Linked DNA regions of Homo sapiens: region 2 is linked to region 1. Evidence: promoter capture Hi-C in human tissues and cell types (Jung and others, 2019). All regions are on one chromosome and are shown on one strand. The core of a region is centred on a gene start or on the middle of the fragment in contact, and the rest is flanking DNA. Distances in the headings are between cores, read along the strand shown. Region 1 holds the start of FRAS1 (Fraser extracellular matrix complex subunit 1). Region 2 overlaps FRAS1 (Fraser extracellular matrix complex subunit 1).

Region 1 (4,569 bases), core at 1,195-3,694:
AGCATGTGCCCCTGTGGTGGACTGGTGGTCAAGGGGGGATGTTATATATAAATCCAATAAATACAGCATATGATTAATTCAGGGTAACTTGGTAGTGCTATTCTCCCTTTATTTATTGCTTTTCCTTTTTGAAAAGTAGCATATTTGCAATTAGCAAGTATAACAGATATCTTATTGAGACCTGTGCCATAATTGTATGATTTTTGGAGTGCAGTGATTATTTATAGGCGTAATCAGGGTGGACCATGGCCTCCAACTTCCAAGCTCAAGTGATCCTCCCGCCTCAGCCTCTGGAGTAGCTGAGACTACAGGTGCACCCCACTGCACCCAGCTTGATTTTTAAAATAAAATCAAATTGTTGATTTTTGAGAGAACAAACGGTTTAAGTTACTCCCATTCAGTAGCAGCTGCAAAATTAGGAGGGGGTTTAAGGGTGACCGTCTGGTTGTCAGAGTGTGTTGGAAGCTGAGTTTGAATTTGCACATCACTTTACATGGATTGAGAAGATGTCCTCCACCCCCCCGCCCCGCCCGACCTTTATTTTTGAGACAGAGTCTCGCTGTGTCACCCAGGCTGGAGTGCAGTGGTGAGATCTCTGCTCACTGCAACCTCTGCCTCCCGGGTTCAAGTGATTCTCGTGCCTCAGCCTTCAGAGTACCTGGGATTAAAGGCATGTGCCACCACACGTGGCTAATTTTTGTATTTTTAGTGGAAATGGGGTTTCACCATGTTGGCCAGGCTGGTCTCGAACTCCTGACGTCGTGATCTGCCTGCCTTGGCCTCCCAAAGTGCTGGGATTACAGGCGTGAGCCACCGCACAGGCCCTACTTTCTAAATAAAAAGGGAGGGGTCTTTTTTTGGGAGGAGGTTAAGGCCCGCAGCTCCCCTTGATATGGCCGCTGCTCTCAGGCACTTAATCCATTATTTCAACAAATGTTTAAAGAGCACCTACTATGTGCTTCAATTATACAAAGATGATACAACCTCTGTCCCTAGAATGACCACAGCCCAACAGAGAGACTGAGGGCGAAATGTGCAAACCCTGGGTCCTCCAAATACTTAAGATTCAGAGCCAGGTTGTCAGAGGTTCTCCTTTGTTCTGGCTGAATAGTAACACTGACAGGGACCTGCCAGTTTCAAGTTATTCCAGTTATTCGGAAAAGTGAATTGTTCCAAGTGGCGTCAGTGCACGTTAGAACGTGGGCCCGCGTCATGGTGTTCGTGAAGACTGGAAACAAGTGGGACCCCCGCCAGCACAGCTCATGCAACTGCTTCCCCTCCAACAGTTTCGCCCATCCCGACTCAATTGAGGGACCCGAGACGTTTCTTCTCTGGGCCAATCAGAACCCAGTCAGCATCTCTCTGATGCAACTGTTCCCTTATAAAACGATTAAACGTGGACCAGCTATTTTTATTCGGTCCTATAAAAATAGCTGCCGTCAGTCAGTCCTGGCGGGGAATCAAGGCCTCTGCTCTTCAAGTGCGCGCCCCAGTCGGCCGTGTCCTGATGTTACTTTCCCAGCCATTGGCATCTGGGGGCGCAGCTGGACCCACAGCTCCCAGACCGCGTTGTGTTCCACTGACAGAGTCTCCTAGGGAAAGGGAAAGGTGCATTTGCTCTCAGGCTCCGCCTAGGACACACACACCAAGATCTTCCCGGGCTGCTGGTAAAAGCCAGGATGCAACAGCCTGAGGGTCCCAGAGCGAGGAAGAAGGATCAATCAGGTCCCCCGGACGCACTTAGTTCAGCAGGAGTGGCGGGCTGTGGGGGTGGGAGGTAGCCCCAGGGCCTTTGATGTGGGCACACGCTCCCCCAGCCCGCCGAATCGGTTCCTCCCCTAACAAGGGATGTGGACACGGTTCATCTGCCTTCCGGTGTGCCTGAGCAAGAACTGTGCAACCTATCTCCACCCCCTCCGTCCCCGGTATGAGCACTTTTGATTCCTCCCCAGACAAAGCCAATCTGAACTCCAGCAGAATGAATAAAGGGATCAGGTTGCTCTCCCGGCCTCCCCTCACCTCCCTCCTCGCTTCTCCCTTTCCCCACGTGACTCTCTGGAATTTCGCCAAAGCTCCGAGTCTCTGGGTCCATTTTCACACCGAGCAAAGCAGAGAGGAAGGAGGCAAGGGAGACTAGAGGAAGGCTGAACGTGTGTCCTTTAAACACGGGGTCCAGACCCGGCGTATTTTGGGCGTTTCCAGGCTCTCTCGCCAGAGTGGCCTTGAGTTTGGGGGTCTTTTCCAGCCTCGCTAGCTTTTTCCTCCGTGCAATTAAAATTATGGCTCTTCTTCCACTCCCGTAATCATTGCACCTCTACCCTGCAGACCTCCTCCGGGGTGTTCAGCGCGGAGGTGGGTGTTGGTGTGCAGCAAGCCGCGTCCCCGCAGCCCTCCTCACCCAGGCGAGGGGCGGGGACGAGAAAGTAGCAGCAGCGCCCCCCAGTCTTTCCTCTGAAGCTTCCGAACAGTCTGCTTCAGGGAGCGCAGCCTGAGGCGGTGTGGTGCGGTGCGGCTGCAGGGCGGGCGAGTCCCCGGAGCTGCCCTCAGCGCTGCACAGTTTCCAGCGAGCGGACCCCGGCAGATGAGGTCTGCCGAGCCGGGTGGCTCGACCAAGGAGTGGGTGTGGGTGGGTCTTTCGGGGCTCCCGGCGACCCGCGGTGCCGACGCAACGCCGACGTATGGTGCCAAGCGAACTTTAAAAAGCTGCTTCGGACAAACCAGAGCCAGGATTTCCACTGTCGGGGACCCGGGATCGGAAGGGTCTAGCCCGAGGGAAATGCTGGAAGATCCCATCGGCCAGTGACCAGCAACTTTCCGGCGAGATTTTGACGCGGAGAACTGTGCTCTGCCTCCTCTTATTCTCCCAAAGCTCACGTTGGCGTCCTGCCTTGCGGGGGAACTCGGCGCGCTCTCTGCCTGAGCAGCGAGTGAATTGAACCCCAGCCCGCTCCGGCGCCTCCGGGCTGATGAGTGTCGCTCTCCGCCCGTCCATCTCTTTTTCCCGGAGGTAAAGGCCCGCGGTCCCCCACCTTCAGTGCGCCCGGGTTCCAAGCGCCGGAGCCAGCGTTTTGGCGGAGCCGCTTCTTGGATGCTGAAGGCTGGGCTCCTCCATCGTGGGTGCCGAGGCGGCGATGGGTGTCCTCAAAGTGTGGCTCGGGCTGGCCCTAGCGTTGGCGGAATTTGCAGTATTGCCTCATCATTCCGAAGGTGAGAGAGCGGTGCCGCGTGTGTGTGTGTGTGTGCGTGTGCGTGTGTGTGTGTATGTGTGAGTGATCGTGCAGTTTAAAAATCTCAGCAGGTTTTATGGTATTTCGGTGAGGTGGAAGTTTTTCTGGGAAGGGTGAGGTGGAAGTGAAACTGGAATAGGCTTTTTCTGATAAGATTCCTACTCCTGATTGTTTTGTATTCGGATTACACCCCCGAAACGGCCTCCCTCTCTGCCCTAAGTGCTTTTGGGTGGGTGGGTGGCCGATGGAGGTGACATCTCTGAAACTGATCCTTTTTCTTTCCACCACCTACCTTTCCCCGAAGGGAAAGCAACTGCATGGAGCACAGGTGAGGAGCGAACAATTGCTCTTACCTGTTTAAAAATACTTCTGTTCCTAAGAAACATACAGTCTTTCATCTTAAAGCCCCATCGCTCTCCCGCCCTCCTTACCTCAGTTAGTCTCCCCCTAAAGTCCAGTTAGGATTTTATAACTAACTGGTTGGAGCGTGTTCTGGTCGTGGGCAGTTCAGTTGCACTGAAAGAAATCTCTCCAGTACGGAGAAGCACGAACCAGCCTGCTTCCCAGAACAAAAGTGGTTAATAAGAGTTTAGGTTCATTCTTTTACTTCACCCTCCGCCTCCTGGTTTTCCTCCGAGGCTCCAAGCTACCTGTAAAACCCCGGAGCCGCAGGAGAGAAAAGGAAGCCGTGAGACTAGTTGTCGCCATGATATCAAATGCAATCCGGGCTCAGCCAAATAAATGAGTCAATAAGTAAATCAAGAGTTTGGGGTCATGGGATGCCGGGCCTGGGGACGCGAGGCGCTGTGAGCTCCCTCCTGCTCCGAGGAGCCAGGGAAGTCGCCCCGCCAGTGCTTAGGGAGGGGGAAGGGAGCCGGCGGGCTGGGAGGAAGACGGCTTAATCCACAGCGCCTGGCTCTCGGCTTCCCCTCCCGGCTCCATTCATTATTCATCCAGCTGCGGGAAGAAGAGTTCACCTGCCCAGCCGCAAACCAGAGCCGCGGCTGGGCGGCGGCGGCGGGCGCAGGGCGGGCCGCCTTCTCCGCCCTGGTGCCTAGGAAGGGGCGCGGGGCGGCTCCCGGGAGTCGAGCTCTGGCGCAGGACTGGGGGCTGCGGGAGGCCCGGGGAGGACAAAGCTCTGCCTCGGGTCGACCTCCAGTCACTGGAGCAGCTGCCTTTTCTTTGCTGGCTTCCCAAGAGAAAGGCCTTGGGAATCCACGCACAAGGGTGGGGGACTTTCCCGTGGGTCCAGGTGCTGCCTTCTGCACTCTTCCGGGATGTGTGTCAAGTGTGTATAATCTCCGCGAAAGGCACATCTGGGGCCTGTGCAGCCTTCTCCCAA
Region 2 (4,569 bases), core at 805-3,304, 120 kb after region 1:
GTTCCCAGCAGATACCTTTGTCCCATACCCCAAGCCTCTTGGGTTTAGGAATCTGCTACTTCTGCTCCAACCTTGAAACATTGGGATCTATCCTGATGCTGTTGTCTCCTGACACTGTTGTTCCCTCCCTAGGGTGCTATGGACATGAAATGGAGGAGTCTTGTCACCTCCCGGAGGAGGTCCTTTACTCTCCAGATGCCCTTTACTCTTGAGACTCCCTCACTTGCATCTCCTCCCTCTTTACAATTACTGGGAAGCTCCCCCATTCCCAGTCCCATTCCCAAGAGGCATCCTGCCTTCTACACATGAGAGGCATCTTGGAATTGAAACTGAGAAGCAAAATATCTTTTCCAGTTATTTCATACAGGTATTTTGACTTCACTTGAGTGCTTCACTCATTCTTACTCAACTCACGTCTTTCTATAAGGTGCATAAAGTTGGGGTTGTGTTTACTGATTAGTGTTAAGCACTAACAAATCTTAACAGGCGGCACTATGTGATTTTTTAAGACATTCTAATTTCTTACTGGGAGGCTATGGAGAAAGTGCTCCTCATTTAAAACACAATTTTAGAAAACCATCATGGGTAAAAATGACAAGGCTGGTTGAAGTAATAGAAAACATTTCTATATGCATTACACTGTTATTCTCAAGGTGCTTAATATTTCTTACTAATGCTTATCATCAGTTACTGTGTGCATTCAGCTTCACTGTACAGATGGTGTAACTGGGTGCTACGTGACTAACTCTTGATTGCCACGTCCCTTGGTGTCTCCTCTGTCTCCCGTGTTTCAACTGAACACACAGCTGAATCCGGGAGATCAGAATAGCAGCTTCTTTTATTTTTAGGACCAGTCTCTGATGCTTTGACTCTCTGAATGAGCCTCATGTTTCCCAGGAGCTCTCTGTAAATTAAATTTTGCTGTGTTTACTGCTTTAACTTGGAAATGTGTTGGCTCATGTTCTTGACTACAAGAAATCACAGTCCACTTAGGTCACATAAAAAACCTTACTATTAATTTAGCGCTTGGCAAACATACCTATGTCCATGGATCTCTTCCATATTTGGTAGGATCATGGAACCTGCTTAATGAAGACTTGAATGCCATTTGAATATACAAGAGGATTATGTGTCTGAGAAGAAGATAATGAGATGTAACACTTCCTACCAATGATGGCAGTGCAAATACAAGCTCCAAACTCCCATCCCGCTCTACAAGATCCTTTGTTTTCCTGTAACCAGGCATAGTTATCTACCTGGGATATAACCAGTATGGAAGGGAGGGAAAAGATAGAAGGGGTGCACTCACTCAGCTCTCTCAAAAATGCTGAGCATACCAACTGTCTAACAATTAAGATAAGCCAAGTATTTGGCTGACTAGCACTGGTCATCTTCATGCATTAAAGTCACCTGGAATATAATTTGTCCTGGGGATAAAATGACAGGATTATAAATCTTTAACCAGGCTTTTAAAAATCTGGTAAGATGGGAAGCTGAATTAGGTCAGAAGTCTTAGGCAACAGAACACAGTCTAAATCTTGAGCCATTTGCTTTGGGAATACCTGTGTAGGAATAGTTGTTGGGATGAATGTTTTCATTTGGAAACAAAACATAAACCCTAAATGTAAATCACTGAATTTTCTTCTAGCAGCATCAGAATAATGCATTACATTCATGCACAGGCTGCGGTATTATTGAGGCAGAAAGGCATTACTGTATTCAGTAATGTGCTGTGAAGATTTTCATTATTGCATCTCAGCAGGCTTGGTTCTAGGCAGAAAGATGAAGTGGGTGAAATCAGCCTTTGCTACTTCCTGCAAATGCAGGCTGGCTGCTCTCCACCGGCCCCATCCGGACACTGCCCATCAGGCTCCTGGCTTCTTATCCCATCGCCTGGAGGCTACTTTTTGTTGGGGCGGGGAGCAAGATTTACATTTGGGCTCTTTCAGTATTTATACTTCTGGCTCCCATTAATTAACACATTTTCTAATGAATTGACTGTGATCTCCTGTTACTGTCTAATTGCTTTTACTGTTCTTTTCTTGGTCAGACCAGCACTACTGGAGAGACTCCCAGGAGTTTCTCTGGGTGGCAACATCTCCCATCTGTGTGCCCCGGTAAGGAGGGACACACTTACTCTGCCATTGAATGCACCCTCAGTTTATTGGCCTTGACTCTGGTCTGGCTGTGTCAGCTAATGCTCCAGCAGGAAGGTCTACAGACCTGAACTGGGTGATTTGAGGAGAGTTCAATAAGGGGACTCTTTTCAGAGGTGAGGGCAGGGCATTGTATAGGGAAACCACAGGAATAGTGCAATATCCTAGGGGTAGTTACAGCAGGGAGCCAATATTAATTCTACATCTGAAAGGGAAAGGAAGAAGAGCATTTCTGGGAACCTGGAAGCAGAGCCAGCTCTGTGGAGAGGGTCATCTTACAGGAATTGTGGCTTCAGATGAGAGACCTGGCCAGATCATGATGCACAGTAGGAAGGGAGGCAGGAAGGAAATGGCCACCCTTTCCACCCTCCCTCTGATCTTCTGCCAGTCCTCCTCTTTGGCCAAATCCTTCTGGAAGCCTGCTGACGTGGTCCATGCAGGCCAGCATGCCTTGGCTGAGAGCATGGGTAGATGGAAATGTCCAGCACAAGGGCTCTCAAGCATGTGACACCATTACATCCCTAAGAGACACTAGGTTGCCGTCTCTTGGTGAGTGCCATTTTGCAAATCAATTGGATTAAGATCTCAGTTGCTCAGACATTAGTGAATTGAATGTCAAATACTACTTTGACTATCAGGGGAATTTTTATGTTGATGCCCACGAAATTAAGGGTAATAATACCTGTAGTTGGTTATACCCTGGTTCAGAAATGAAGTAATTTTTCTTTTGCAGTTAGCTTCCTATTATATGTGAGATAGCATTACTTCATGTATCAACATCTATGCAAATTGGCAATTTAAGAAAAAGGACTGAAAACTAGGAAGGCTAGAATGTCATAGAATCTTGGACTTGGAATACAGCATCCCATTTGTTCTCCTACTTAGAGCAGAAATCCCTTTTAAAGTGCCTGCAGTAATCATTGCGCCCCTCCCATTGTGAGTATGAGGACTCGCAATTCCACCCATTCCCATTGCCATCAGGTGTAAATGTTATAAAGAGTTTCCTTACACTGGGCAGAAATCAACTCACTGTTCCTTTCACCAGTTGTTCTGATTTTTCCCTGAAGAGCTACATTGCTTAAATCTCATCATCCTTCAAATATGTGAAGACAGCCATCATTTCTCCCTGACACCTTCTCATTTCCAGGCGAAACATTCCCAGTTTCTGCAACCTGTCCTCATAAGTACAATTTAATTCAACCAACATTTTTTGAGCCCACAGCTATTGGCAAGGCTCCAGGCAGGCACACCTATGAAGCTTACAGTGTGGCTGGGGAGAGGAATGTAAACACTTATGCAATACAAGATAGAATGGAATGTGTTGAGTAGAAGTTTAACTCACATACTTCTAAGTTTTCATACAAGTTGTTGGTAAAAATGTTAATAGGAAAGAAACAAGGAAGGGGCCTTGTAGCATGTCAAGAAAGAGCCTTCTTTAGGTTGAGACCAATTAGCTAACTCACATCAATGGGTACTACCATTCAACCTACTCTTGGCTTTGGTCATCTTATCTGTCCCATCAAAACATCACAGGGACCTTTGTCTTGTATTGCTGAAACCAAAATTCATTATGTCTGTCCCAACAATTGCCAATAGGCAGGTTACACACCTCCATAGTGGGAGTGCGTTAGAACCTCAATGGGAGGGAGAGAGAGAGTGATGTGAGTTTTTTTTTTTTTTTTTTGAGACAGAGTCTTGCTCTGTTGCCCAGGCTGGAGTGCAGTGGCGCTATCTCGGCTCACTGCAAGCTCCGCCTCCTGGGTTCATGCCATTCTCCTGCCTCAGCCTCCTGGAAATGTTTTATATTCACCAGAAGAGGGGGACATGGCTTGAAATATAGTTGAGAAACAAATAATTATACTTAAGTGTTAAAAATTATGAAAGCTAAATGGTAGTACATAGGTATTCTTTATGTTATTCTAAATGGTATTTTTGAAATACCTCAATGTTTATGGAAGGAGGAAATAAACACTGCCTTGGTCCATAGTGGAACCTTAATGGTGGAGTATGGCCATGGGCAACTCATGAGCTGCTGAGACAAGTGGTTGGGGACATTGGTCTATGGTTAGCATTCTCTTGTTGTACCTGTTCAGTTTCATTGTTAAAATTGTTCTCTCATTGAGTTAAAGCAAAATAAACAGCCATCTCTGGGTGAGGTCAGTTGGGAGTCTCTGGGTCCTGAATCACTGCTGGCAGGGGTGGCCGTAGGGAAGGCGGGTCTGCCAGCTCTACTTGAGATTATGCTTCCAGCACCTGTAACTCCTGGTTCATCACCATCAACACTAAGGCTGAAAATTGCAGCCCTGCCTCTATCTCATACACCTTCTTCCTTTCAGGTGCCTCACCACCTTTTACCTTCCCTCCCCTTACATACGGATTGGATTGAACACTGTGTATTACTTCCTGGAAGTTA

Evidence for each region. The method cuts DNA at HindIII sites, captures the fragments that hold promoters and counts their contacts. A contact is called where the count stands out against the background at its distance.
Region 2: a fragment that was not itself captured here is called in contact with the fragment with the promoter of FRAS1 in region 1 in 2 of the 25 tissues and cell types used here (H1 embryonic stem cells and thymus).

The regions. Positions count from the first base shown.
Region 1 is chr4:78,054,879-78,059,447 of GRCh38, forward strand. FRAS1 (Fraser extracellular matrix complex subunit 1) reads left to right here and starts at 2,445. Exons shown (of 74, transcript NM_025074.7): 1 at 2,445-3,207. The coding sequence starts at 3,132. RefSeq lists an enhancer at 1,031-2,002. The HindIII fragment of the contact is 7,312 bases long and covers 1-4,569 here.
Region 2 is chr4:78,173,266-78,177,834 of GRCh38, forward strand. The region is part of intron 2 of FRAS1 (Fraser extracellular matrix complex subunit 1); the gene reads left to right. Among named protein-coding and RNA genes, the nearest start is that of SNORD161, 110 kb to the right of the region's middle. The HindIII fragment of the contact is 5,977 bases long and covers 1-4,569 here.